Regions from separate parts of the Homo sapiens genome. Here region 1 is linked to region 2. Evidence: promoter capture Hi-C in human tissues and cell types (Jung and others, 2019). All regions are on one chromosome and are shown on one strand. Each heading gives the region's core, a stretch centred on a gene start or on the middle of the fragment in contact. The rest is flanking DNA. Distances are from core to core; before and after follow the strand shown. Region 1 holds the start of CGN (cingulin). Region 2 holds the start of THEM5 (thioesterase superfamily member 5).

Region 1 (6,634 bases), core at 3,877-6,376, 340 kb before region 2:
GCAGGTCCAGTAATCTGGTGAACTAGTTACCTGCCTCAACTTTCTCAACTCCTCACTCTTTCACATCTGTTCTTCCAATTTAAGTTCCAGAACAGAGACTTCACCTTCTCCTCTAAGTTCCAAGTTTTGACTATTTGGCTGTTCTCTTTTTCTCTTTTCCTCTTTCTCCCATCTCATCTTAGTTCTTGAATCTTGTCTCCTTTTCTAGCTTCTTATTAAAACATAACCAAGTCTCTTCTTCTTCTCCTTTCTTTTTTTTGAGATGGAGTTTCGCTCTTGTTGCCCAGGCTGGAGTGCAATGGCACAATCTCGGTTCGCTGAAACTTCCGCCTTCCAGGTTCAAGCAATTATCCTACCTCAGCCTCCCAAGCAGCTAGGATTACAGGTATGTGCCACCACACTCAGCTAATTTTTGTATTTTTAGTAGAGGCGGGGTTTTACCATGTTGGCCAGACTGGTCTTGAACTCCTGACCTCACGTGATCTGCCCGTCTTGGCCTTCCAAAATGCTGGGATTACAGGTGTCAGCCACTGCGCCCAGCCAGTCTCTCCCTCTTAAAAATGAAACCAGCTGGGCACAGTGGCAAATGCCTGTAATCCCAACACTTTGGAGGCCGAGGCGGGTGGATCACTTGAGCTCAGGAGTTCAAGACCAGCCTGGACAATATGGCAAAACCCCTTCTCTACAAAAAATACAAAAATTAGCTGGGTGTGGTGATGTGCACCTGTAGTCCCAACTACTCAGGAGGCTGAGGTGGGAGGATCGCTTGAGCCCAAGGAGTTGAGGCTGCAGTGAGCCGTGACTGCACCACTACACTCCAGCCTGCGTGACAGTGAGACCCTGTCTCAAAAAAAACCAAACACCCCCCCACCAGTCTCCCCACAAAACCCCAAAACCAAACATAGAAGTTGCCCTTTCTTTTACCCTGTTTTCCTTTAAGTCAAGGTACCCTCTCTCTTTCCTTTTTATTGATACACTTCTTATATTGCATTCTGAGTTGAAAGCCTATCACACTGCTGAAACTGACGTCTGGAAGATCACCCATAACTTCGAAATGCCAAATTCCAGTCTCTTCTCCTACTTGAATACCTCTCTTGCATGAACTTCTTTACTTACCTTTCTCAATAACCCCACAATGATCCCGTTTTTACTCCTCATCTGTCCTTTATTTCTCACAGTTTGTTCTGTAGTCCTCTTAGCAAACTTTCATCTATGAGGATGATTCTTAGCTCTGTCTCTAGCCCTGATTTCTTTTCTAGGCTTCATTTCCAGTTGTTTGCTAGACATTTGTATGTGTGTGTGGATTTACCACATGCTTTTTTAAAATTTTTTTTGAGACGGAGTTTTGCTCTGGTTGACCAGGCTGGAGCACAGTGGCGTGATCTCTGTTCACCGCAATCCCTGCCTTCCGGGTTCAAGTGATTCTCCTGCCTCAGCCTCCCGAGTAGCTGGGATTATAGGCGTGTGCCACCACGCCCGGCTAATTTTTGTATTTTTAGTAGAGACAGGGTTTCTCCATGTTGGTCAGGCTGGTCTTGAACTCCTGACCTCTGTTGATCCGCCCGCCTCAGCCTCCCAAAGTGCTGGGATTACAGGCGTGAGCCACCGCGCCCGGCATCACATGCTTCTTTAAAATATCAGGTTCCAGAGTTAATTTATCATACTCTTCTTCTAGGTCCTCCTCAAATCCTTCCTGTCTCTTGTCCTTTCCATTTCAGCTAGTGGCATCACCTCATTTCCATTATTATTATTATTATTATTATTTCGAGACAGAGTTTCACTCTTGTTGCCCAGGCTGGAGTGCAATGGCACAATCTCGGCTCATTGAAACCTCAGCCTCCTGGGTTCAAGCGATTCTCCTGCCTCAGCCTCCCGAGTAGCTGGGATTACAAGCATGTACCACCATGCCCGGCTAATTTTTGTATTTTTAGTAGAGACAGGGTTTCACCATGTTGGCCAGGCTGGTCTCGAACTCCTGACCTCACGTGATCCGCCTGTCTTGGCCTCCCAAAATGCTGGGATTACAGGCATGAGCCACCGTGCCCGGCCTTAAACGGGTGATCTTTGAGAGAACAATTCAGTAGAGTTGCTAGTGGTATCAGTGAATCTTGGAGAATTCAGGAAAGAATTGCAGGAGAGGAATTTGGTTCCAAATCCACTTTTTTTTTTTTTTTTTTTTGAGATGGAGTCTCGCTCTGTCGCCCAGGCTGGAGTGCTGTGGCTAGATCTCAGCTCACTGCAAGCTCCGCCTCCTGGGTTCAGGCCATTCTCCTGCCTCAGCCTCCCAAGTAGCTGGGACTACAGGCGCCCACCACCACACCCAGCTAATTTTTTGTATTTTTAGTAGAGACGGGGTTTCACCATGTTAGCGAGGATGGCAAATCCACTTCTTTGATGAAACCTGCAATTTACCTAAAACTTTCTCTATTATCCCATTTCATAAAATAAAACTTCTCTCTTTAACATCTATCAGTGTTATTTCTTCTTTCTGGGTATTATATTTGCTATAAATTCTGTTTTTGCTGTATTTATAAACTGGCCAATTTTGCCATTTCTTTTTTGAAAAAATTTTATTATTATTATTTTTTATAAAGATGGGGTCTCACTGTGTTGCCCAGGCTGGTCTTGAATTCCTGGGTTCAAGCGATCCAACTCCAGGGCTCAAGCTATCCTCCTGTTTTGGCCTCCCAAAGTGCTGGGATTAGAGGCATGAGTCATCACGCCTGGCCCTGTAGCATTTCTTAAGGAGAGGGATCACCTGTCTTCTGAACTCTGGAAAAAGACCAGGGTGTCGCCTTTGTCACTTGTGCCTGGATGTACCTCTCAGACTGAGTGCTTCCTTGAAGAACAGATGACGAAGGCGGTGACTCAGAGGCTCCCACTTATCCTTGTAATTCGTGTTCATGGTGCTGGGTAACCACCCAAATTGGTATTTACTACAAATATACTAAGTATCCTAATTGCTAAGGTGTTATCTAGGGGAGTTTAGGCGCTTCCGCCTTTCCAATATCTGAGTCAATTTAATATCCCACATTAAAAAAAAAAATCTCCTTACAAACACTTGGTGGGGGCGAGCGTGGTGGCTCACTCCTGTAGTCCCAGTACTTTGAGAGGTCGAGGCAGGCGGTTCGCTTGAGTTCAGGAGTTCAAGACCAGCCTGGACAACATGGAAACCCCATCTCTACTAAAAATGCCAAAATTAGCCCGGTGTGGTGGTGGGCGCCTGAAGTTCCAGCCACTCAGGAGGCTGAGGTGGGAGGATCGCTTGAGCTTTGGAGGCTGAGGCTGCAGTAAGCAGAGATTGCACCACTGCACTCCAGCCCGGGTGACAGAGTGAGACTCCGTCTCAATGAAAAAAACAAAACTAAAGCAAAAACAAAAACAAAAAAACCCAAAACAGGCTGGGTGTGGTGGCTCACGCCTGTAATCCTAGCCCTTTGGGAGGCCAAGGTGGGCAGATCACTTAAGGACAGGAGTTCAAGACCAGCCTGGTGAAACCCTGTCTTTATTAAAAAATACAAAATATTAGCCGGAAATCAATTGAATCTGGGAGGCGGAGGTTGCAGTGAGCCGAGATTGCGCCACTGGACTTTAGCCTGGGCGATAGAGCAAGACTCCGTCTTAAAAAAAAAAAACAACAAAAAAAACCCAAACCAAAAACCATCCCATGGGAGTGTCTCTGAACCTATTCTGGTTCAGGAGGCTGCACAATAAAAGAAAAATAAGAAAAAATTTTTTAAAAAAAAGTCTTTTAAAAGCCACCCAGTGTTCAGGAGGTGCGCTCCTGGAAGGACATTTCCTCTTCTGTCCCCACCCCCACTACATGTTTTTTGCTGTTCCTCCCCAGGGAACAGGCCGGTTTGATGGCCCTAATCCTTATATACAGCTTGCTCTGGAATGCAGAGACTTTGCATCCCAGCTGAGGAGCTGGTAAGTGGACTTTACTCTGTAGGACCCACACCTAGCTTTTGAAGGCTTGGGGAGGGGCGGAAACCAGCTCCCGAGAATACACCGGAATCTGTGCTGCATCGAAGATTCCTCTTCTACTCCAATAGATACAGGGTAAATATTTGTTGTAACTAAATGAGAACAAAATCCGGAGCCCAGCAACGTAAACGAAGTCAATCTCTTTTTTACATATCTCAACGGTTAACAGCTAGGATGCCAGCTTTAATGTTGTTTTAACTGCAGCTGGTATGAGCGGTCCTGCAGTTTGCAGAGCCCCTAGTTTTTACTCTTTTCTAGGAACTGGGATCAGCATCCCTACTTTTTGAGAGGCTAACTCTGAGGTAAATTTACAACTGAGTCCCTTTCAGTTTAGAACGAAGGTCATTCCTATTTTGGTAAATTTGCGTCCCCGGTTTCCATTCATTCAGTCAACAAATATTTATTAAGCATGTAGTATGTACCAGTCCCTGTTGTAGGCGTTTGGGGTGAAGCAAGGCACAGAACAAGAGATCCTTGCTCTGGTGAAGCTTATCGTAGGACGGGAGGCAAAATGATGAAAATGATTTTTAAAATTATGTTATTAACTAGAAGGTGATAAATATTACATAGAAAAAGATGTCAGGCTGCAAAATGATTGCGGAGGCCACAAGATAAAAGAGAATCCAAGATCAGGGTTCTGGTTCGGGTCAGGGAAAAGGGAGACGAGCTGAGGTGCAGGAGGCTCTGACGTCGGGGGACAACGGAGATATTTTCTGCAGAAAGTGACGAAAGAGCATTCTGGTTCCTGCAGAGGTAGGTGAAGGACAGAAAGGGCCCTGGCCGGCGATTCCCTTGGAGTAAACGGGAGGCAGGAGGCTGTTTTCTAGCAGAGCCCAGAAGATGCTCTGGCCGACGGCTCCCGGGATCTTGGCCGGCGGTCACTCGCGACCATCCGCGACGCCCCCAAAATGGCCTCCGCGCCCCTCGCCGCCCCGCCCCGACGCTCCGCAGCCCGTGGGTCCACGTGACCTGGCCCGCCCTTCGCGGCTGGAGACCCCGGGTCCCGGTCCCCGCACCGGAGGCCCCGCCCCCTACGGGAAGCGGACCAACCGGAGCGGGGAAAGGCGGGGCGGGCACTGACGGCCCGCGGGGGTGGAGCTCCGCAGCGGAGTAACAGGTTGGTGGGAGGGAGAGAAAGGAGGGAGCTCCGAGGACGAGGGGGAGGGCCGGAGCTGCGCGTGCTGCTTTGCCCGAGCCCGAGCCCGAGCCCGAGCCCGAGCCCGAGCCCGAGCCCGAACGCAAGCCTGGGAGCGCGGAGCCCGGCTAGGGTGAGTGGACCCGGTGCGGGCCAGGGCACCCGAGAGGAAAGCGAGCCTTCAGGGGTACCTTTGAGGGGCAGGCATCGAGGCGGTGTGAGATGCCCCTCTCCAGGGCACCGGTGCCGAGTGGGAGACGGGAGGAGGGGAGATTGGGGCGGGGTGGGGTACTGATTAAGAGCCGACCCCTACCCTGAGGTGCCAGATGCAGGTGGCTAGGAAGGTGCCAGGCGAGGGGCACCTGGGGCGAAGGCTGTTCCCAGCGCATGAAAGCGTTTCAGCGCCAGATGTCTCTGGAGGTCAGACGCCAGCCCTAGGGGCAGAATTTCTCTTGGAGACAGCGGTGGCGCGGGGAAGGAGTTAGTTCCAGCTGAGTCGGGAACTGCTGCTGCCTGAGGTGCAGACTCGCCAGGGGAGGGCATCTGCAGGTGCTGCTCGCCTGAGGGTCTTTCCTGCGTCCTGCGGTCTCAGCTGGCCGTTGTCAGCACCCTGGTGGCTTTGAGATGACTCTGAGGTGTGGGATTTTTTCCCCAGCCCTTCACCTCCGGCCGAAGGCAGTTGCGAATCAGAGACACTGAGGGGCAGATGAGAGGGCACCCTCATCTCTTCACCAGGTGTACAACCATTAGGCTTTCACTTTGTGTCCTTTGCTTTCGTGCCAGGGAGAATCGTTCCTTCTTCCTCTTGAGAGAGAGAGAGAGTACTCCCCAAGAGAGGGATATGAGGAAGCAAAGAGCCCTGCCTGGTCCTGCAAAATATTGATAAATATTAATACTTATTTCTCAGGAGGCCCCTTTCTGGGGGCGGATGTCAAACCCTTTCTCCAAGTACCCACATATTTTTTCTGTGGTTCTAGATGGGGACCATTGGATGAGGTTTGGGAGCCCAACCAATTTCCTTGATGTCTGGAGGAATCCCCATTACTCCCTGAACGCCCTCCAGGCATCCCTGACTCCTGAACTGCGGTGGCTGTCAGAATGGCAGCAGGCACTATTGGGGCAGGAAATAGGCAGGACTCATCAGGAGACCACGAGACTAGGGAAATTACAACTCCAAATCCCCAGGACAGATGAAAGGTGCACCTTGGGGCCCAGACAAGACTGGAGGCAAATTTCTTTGCCTTAGGCAGGTAAAGGAACTAGAGTCAACCTTAGCTTGGCCCCTTTGAAGCCCTGCCTGAGGAAGGTTGTTGTAATTGGGAAATAATTAGCAACCGCTATGTTTGTAGATGGGCTGCCTACACATGCCTATGCATCTCTTCTTTCATCCTGGATGTTTGGGAGTCTGGGGGCTGGCTCTGGGGGACTGCTAATCCAGAGATTTGCCCGACTCTAAGAGGATTCTGGCTTCCTAGAACCCTTCCTGTGTTTCCCAGGCTGGCCTGCATGCCA
Region 2 (6,271 bases), core at 2,897-5,396:
TTAGTTTTTCCACCATGAATTTCACAATTCTGATCTCAGCAGATTAAATAAACAAATGTTTGCAAACATAATTTACACACTTCTTAGGCACTTCCCTGTCTGCCTCCCAAATTGCTTGAAAGAGAGTGAAAAGAGTTGGTGTCAAAGAACTCGAAACCAACTCTCTCCTCCTTGTCCTCACTGGCCAGCCTGGGGACCCATTGGCCAGTATGTGGATCTACAGAGTAGCTCTTGGCCAACGAGTAACTCCTCCTTCCCACTCCCCATGGTCTAGGGGCCTGGTGGATACTAATCTCTTCTCTAGACCCCCAACCCCTCAATCCACTGACTGGCCTTAGTGTTGGATGGTCCTCCTCTGCCTCTTTGGCCTCACTTCCATCAGCCCCTAAATAAAAGTCAGCCATGCTTCAGAAAGGAGGGAGTCCATGGCCTGGGCAGGGCTCTGAGCAATTCACTAGTATCTGCACAGCCTAGTGTGTGGAGCAGTGTCCCTGTGGAGGACTCCTTTGGGATGGCCAAGGTGACTGAGGGCTGCAGTTGGCATCCACAGCCTCTGGAGGCCCTGACATCTATTTAGCACTCTGGATTCTATTTAACCCCAGTTAAGCCCCTCTCAGGCTTCAGGACCCTAAAGCCACTCCTGCCCTCTCTTGTCTCTCCCTTGCAGGAGCTCCAGCACCACCTCCAGCCTTCAGTGACTGTCTGGAGCAGGCATCCGGATGGAAGAGAAGGGGGACAACCATGAACTTGGTGACCCACGGTCAGCCTGATTTCCCTTGTGGACACATTTATGCCCAGTGTGCATTCCTCCTGAGGTCTGTTCCAAGTCTGGAGGCAGCAGAGTAGAGTGGAGAGAACAGTGGACTTGGAATCTCACCTCCCAGATTAGAGTCCTGGATCTGACTTTGATTGCTGGTGCTGCCTCGGGCAAGTTACTTTAGCTGTGTGCATCTCCATTTCCCCATGGATAGAACATGGGTTTTGGGTAGAAGTGTCTGATAGCTGTACTGTGCTTTACGGTTCATGAGCACGCACACATAGGCCCATAATATCATATCTCTGGTCACCCTGGCAGGTAGATATTATTGCCCCAGGTTTCAGGTAAGAAGACTAAAGACCAGGGGTCAATTGCTTGCTCAGAGTCCCACAGCCAGCAGCAGCCAGGCAGGACACCAAGTCAGAGTCTAGATTCCGGATCTTGCCCTCTTCCAAGTGTACCACATTCTTCTCAAAGTGGCCTCTCAGGTCTTTTGTCCAGAAAATTTTGAGACTTTGATGAGAAGCCCATATCTGCACACTGGGGATTAGGCCAGATAACCCTGTGTGTCCTTCCAGGCCTGGTATTGTGAGGCTGAAGCCTAGTGCCCCACACTCCCTTCCTCACCCCTTAGAGAAAGATAGAGACTCCAGGGCCAGCCTGGTGGGTGCTGAACCTGCCCTGCTGAGCCAAGCCCAGGAGGCAGCCAAGGTCCTACCAGTGACCTTACCCTGGGGGCCCCTCCAGGTAGGAGCCTGGTTGGAAAAGACAGACCGACTTCTTCTGGGTTGGCTGGAAAAAGATGACATACTCAAAGCCTTGTCCTTCCACTTGGATGCACCTGGTGAAGATGCGACAGTCACCTTTGTCTGGGGAGAGATAGGCAGTGTTGCAGCCGGAGAAGGGAGGGTATGGTCAGGATGCAGCACCATTTGGTTGAGTCTTGCCTCTGGTACAAGATTAAGGAGAGAAAACCAGAGGACACCAGGTCCACCCCCAGGGAGCCTTCCCTCTGGGAGCAGAGGCACAGTTGCTGTCCTCACAGAGCCTTTCTGTCTAGGGCAGAAACATGCAGGAAGTGCCCTGGCTGAGAATGGAGATAGGATCAGGGCCAGGGCAAGACTTTAAGAGACCATAAGCATTGAAAATTGAAAATGTAATTACTCATGTAACTCACATATAATTCAAAAGAATAATAGTAAACAGTAAAATAAGAGCAGAAAAGTCCATCAAAGTTCTGATTTTTTTTTTCCAAGACAGCTACCACTACTACATCCTTTTTTGGAAGTATCAAATTCTTTGAAAAAAAATTATGTTGGTATTCCTGCTTTGTTTGTGCCATAAACCCAAGGGTAGTCTGTCCCCTGTACCACTCCTTCATCACTAGGCAGGAAGACAACATATATGAGTGAGAGAGACAGGGAGATACACATGCGTGCACACACGAGTGCACACACACACACAAGAAGGTGGAAGCTCTATCATTAGGATCCATTAGGATCATTAGGTGTTTCAGGAGTGCTGCTCCAGACCCCGCACAGCAGGGATGATGTGCAGGGCCTCAGTGGAAGGGGTGTGGGGTCCAAGGGCTTTCATGGGGTTGGGGCGGAAGGCTTGGGATGAGGCTTGATAGTTAGGGAGGGGCAGTCAGTGAGAAGTCGGGGCAGGAGCTGGGCTGGCTGTCCTCCAGTGGGGACATGCTTGGCTGGGAGCGAAGGTGGGCCCACCAGGGTGTGCTGCTTCAGATGGGAGGAGGGGAGCTGGAGACCTGAGAGGACACCCGCCGCCTGTTGCCTGGGGCTGCAGCATCAGGGGTGGAGTTGGACAGCAGGAAGAACTCGCTGAGAACTGGAAGGCGGTCTGTGAAGTTGCTTCTCAGTCTTAGAACACAGGGAAGGGCGGCTGGGGTGTGTGTACTCATGGTCCTGTCCTTACCTGAGGAAACTGCCAGTCCAGATGGGAGCTTGAGTCCCCGGATGTGGTCTCTGTTGGACTTGAAGGAGGGCAGCTTGATCCAGCCGCTAGACTTAGTCTTCTCCAGAAATTCTTGGTACAGGCTCAGCATGTCCGAACACCAGCTGGCATTGGGAAGAGCATAATCCTTCAAGTCTGTCTTCTCTGGCAAGAATCTTGAGAACTGGGCAGGAAAAATCAGAATGACTAGACAGCATCCTGGAGGGGGGCTGCTGCCTGGGCTCGGGACCTCTAAACAGCTGTTCCTGGGTGCTGGGGCTTCTCAATCCCTTCTGCCAGAGTATCGATCCAAGGGAAAGGGCCCATATTCCTTGCAGGGGGGCTGCGGACCCCTATGGGTGACGGGGCATAAGGATGCTAAAGAGCAAGGGAAGGGCGGGCAGGGAGTGGGGCCAGAGATGATGGGCATGCTGCTCGATGTGGTGCCTTACCCTTGTTCTGCTTAAAACATGTGAGCAGTTCTTTAAAGTTGACAACTGCTCATATTAGCCTCACTGTACAGATGGGGAAACTGAGGGAATACGGCCAAGGTTGCCAAGCATGTGACTGTGAGAGCTGGTGGTCGCACTAGATGCTGTCTCCTCTGCAGGGCAGGGTCACAGTTGTTGAGGACCATTCTAGCAACCCCCACCTCAGGGGCTACTCCAGCTCTGCCCACTGCTGTGGGCCTGCCTGGGCAGGGTGGCTCCTTTGAAACACATTTGGGCCCCCACAGAGGTGTGGTGCCATGGCTGGGGCACAGACTATGTGCCCATCTGTGTGACGTAAGGAAGTCCTCTGTAGCGTCACCTGCTCATACACCAGTCACAACTGTAGACAGCATGTGAGCTGCTTGCCAATGCCACAGATGGGGTCCTCTGTCTGGGGATACCCCAGCTTTGCTGCAGTAGTCTGAGTCCCACAGGAGGAAAGTCATTTGTTGGTGGCCACACAAGACACAGAGCCAGATGCAGGTCTCCTGGTAGTTTTAGTTTTGAATGGGGGCAACTTGGTATCCCAGAGCACTTTCTCTTTGCCAAATCAAATAGCTCCTCCGAACACTGCCCACCTGCCCTGGCCATGGGCTGGGAAGAGGAGATTTGGGGTGCTCCTTAAGCCCTAGGCTCCTGGGAAAACACTGCCCATCTGGCTGAGCTGGGAACTCACCATGGAGTCTGTGGAGGATCCAAATGCTGAGGCAGGGTTGAGTCTGGGCAGGATACGGGGGGCCTCAAGAAGGCCTCTGTGGTGGCCAAGTCTTGCTGCCACCTGGAAGCATCTCCTTATCATGGCCAAGTGCAAGGATCCAGCCCTGCTTGGATGGAGGGTCTTGGCTGACTCCCAAGGAGTGCTTTCAGCTGCACTTGGGGCCGCTTCTCTCCCTTCTGTTGCAGGCTTTCTTTCAGAGAGCTAGGCGAGGCTGGGCTGGTGTGCTGCAACACCCACAGATGCTCGGCGCCTTTAGCTGGTCTAGGAGCCCCACCCAGTGCTTGGGGAGGGACAGATGCTGCTTGGGCATGAAAAGGCAGCAGGACTGGCTTGAGTTGCAAAAGGAGTAAACAAGTACATAAACAAATAGTATGGGGTATATAGAGCCTTGGAGAGCTGCCTGGGGGTTCTGAGGGAGAATCCAAGAATATTTCCAGAAGGATAAGGGAAGCCTGTCCCTTGATTGGAGGGTGCTGGTGGAGTGTTCTTGGTATGTGCTCTGCAGTGTATACCGGACTCTGAAAACTCTGGTATGATTTTGTGACTCAGAAAACCAACTCACAGGCCGGGTGCGGTGGCTCACGCCTGTAATCCCAGCACTTTGGGAGGCCGAGGCGGCGGATTACGAGGTTAGGAGATCGAGACCATCCTGGCTAACACGGTGAAACCCCGTCTCTACTAAAAAAAATACAAAAAATTAGCCGGGCGTGGTGGCGGGTGCCGGTAGTCCCAGCTACGCAGGGGGCTGAGGCAGGAGAATGGCGTGAACCTGGGAGGTGGAGCTTGCAGTGAGCTGAGATCTAGCCACCGCACTCCAGCCTGGGCGACTGAGCGAGACTCCGTCTCAAAAAAATAAAAATAAAAAAATAAAAAAAAAGAAAACCAACTCACAGCCTTAGACACCTCTTTTTTTTTTTTTTTTTTTTTTTTGGTGAGACGGAGTTTCAATCTTGTCGCCCAGGCTGGTGTGCAATGGCGTGATCTCGGCTCACTGCAACCTCCGCCTCCTGGGTTCAAGTGATTCTCCTGCCTCAGCCTCCTGAGTAGCTGGGATTACAGACACACACCACCACACCCAGCTAAATTTTGTATATTTTTTTTAGTAGAGATGGGGTTTTGCCATGTTAGCCAGGCTGGTCTTGAACTCCTGACCTCAGGTGACCTCCCAAAGTGCTGGGATTACAGGCGTGAGCCACCGCACCCGGCCAACACCTCTTCTTATATCCCGGACAAGGGTTAGCACAGGAGAGTTTCACCTGCTGGTCTCTGGCTGGGGATAGGAGTTGGAGGTGGGGGAGGGCTTGACAGGGAGGGCAGAAAATAATTTGGGAGGAAACAGCTTGGCAGGGATACTCTCATGTTTTGGGAACCCCGTGCCCAGGGAGTGGCTCATGTCAGCAGGCAGTGCTGGGAGTGAGGTGGGCGCGGCAGTGAGGCTTTGTTGAGTGGGAAGGGACACTCAGCCAACATCTGCAAGGCAGTGGGATTTGGTGGTGGTGTGTCTTCTATTGAATTTAAACTGCCAATTTTCAATTAAAAGTCTCAGTTTTAAATTGACTAAAATAAAAGCATGTTCTAAAGATCAGTCCTCGCGCAGTGGCTCAAGGCTGTAATCTCAGCATTTTGGGAGGCCGAGTGAGACCTTGTCTTAAAAAAAAAAAAATCAGAACTGTGCAAAGGTGGAATCATAACAGTGATGATGACGATAATAATAGTTGTGATGATTATGACATTTTGGCAGGTTCCAAAAGATGAAACTGATTTAATGCGGAAATTTAAAAGATTTGGTTCACCCTCTGTATTTGGTTGCCCTAGAAGAAGACTAGAATATAAATATTTCCCCTCACCTCCTGCAAAGGTTTGAATTAAACTTCCTCAAGGACTGGGGGAACCATTTTTTTTTGTTGTTGTTATTTTGTCAGAGTCTCACTCTTATTGCCCAGGAGTGCAGTGGCACCATCTCGGCTCACTGCAACCTCTGCCTCCCAGGCTCAAGCAATTCTCCTGCCTCAGCCTCCCAAGTAGCTGGGATTACAGGCGCTTGCTACTACGCCCGGCTAGTTTTTATATTTTTAGTAGAGACGGGGTTTCATCATGTTGGCCAGGCTGGTCTCAAACTCCTGGCCTTGGCTGATCTGCCTGCCTCAGCGTCCCAAAGTGCTGGGATTACAGGCATGAGGCACCACGCCCAGCTGGAAGTTTTTTTGGTTGATTCAGCCTCTGGGTCTAAGCAAAGATATTTGAGTTGGTTGCCATCCCCAGATAAGTGAGAATATCTGGCAGCACTCATTTTCAGCCCTGGGCCGCAGCCGTTGCTGTGAGGCAGAAATTAAAAAAAGATAGTAAGTACTA

The links. Contacts are between HindIII fragments. The study calls those that stand out against the background at their distance.
Region 1: the fragment with the promoter of CGN here is called in contact with the fragment with the promoter of THEM5 in region 2 in 1 of the 25 tissues and cell types used here (mesenchymal stem cells).

Annotation. Positions count from the first base shown.
Region 1 is chr1:151,506,261-151,512,894 of GRCh38, forward strand. It overlaps CGN (cingulin), which reads left to right and starts at 5,127. Exons shown (of 21, transcript NM_020770.3): 1 at 5,127-5,255. RefSeq lists enhancers at 4,204-4,780, 4,781-5,356, 5,508-5,647, 6,510-6,634 and a silencer at 4,778-5,177. The HindIII fragment of the contact is 12,501 bases long and covers 1-6,634 here.
Region 2 is chr1:151,849,566-151,855,836 of GRCh38, forward strand. THEM5 (thioesterase superfamily member 5) reads right to left here and starts at 4,147. Exons shown (of 6, transcript NM_182578.4): 1 at 3,878-4,147; 2 at 2,693-2,894; 3 at 1,488-1,626. The coding sequence starts at 4,000. It overlaps C2CD4D-AS1 (C2CD4D and THEM5 antisense RNA 1), which reads left to right. Exons shown (of 4, transcript NR_152846.1): 4 at 668-1,970. The HindIII fragment of the contact is 11,981 bases long and covers 1-6,271 here.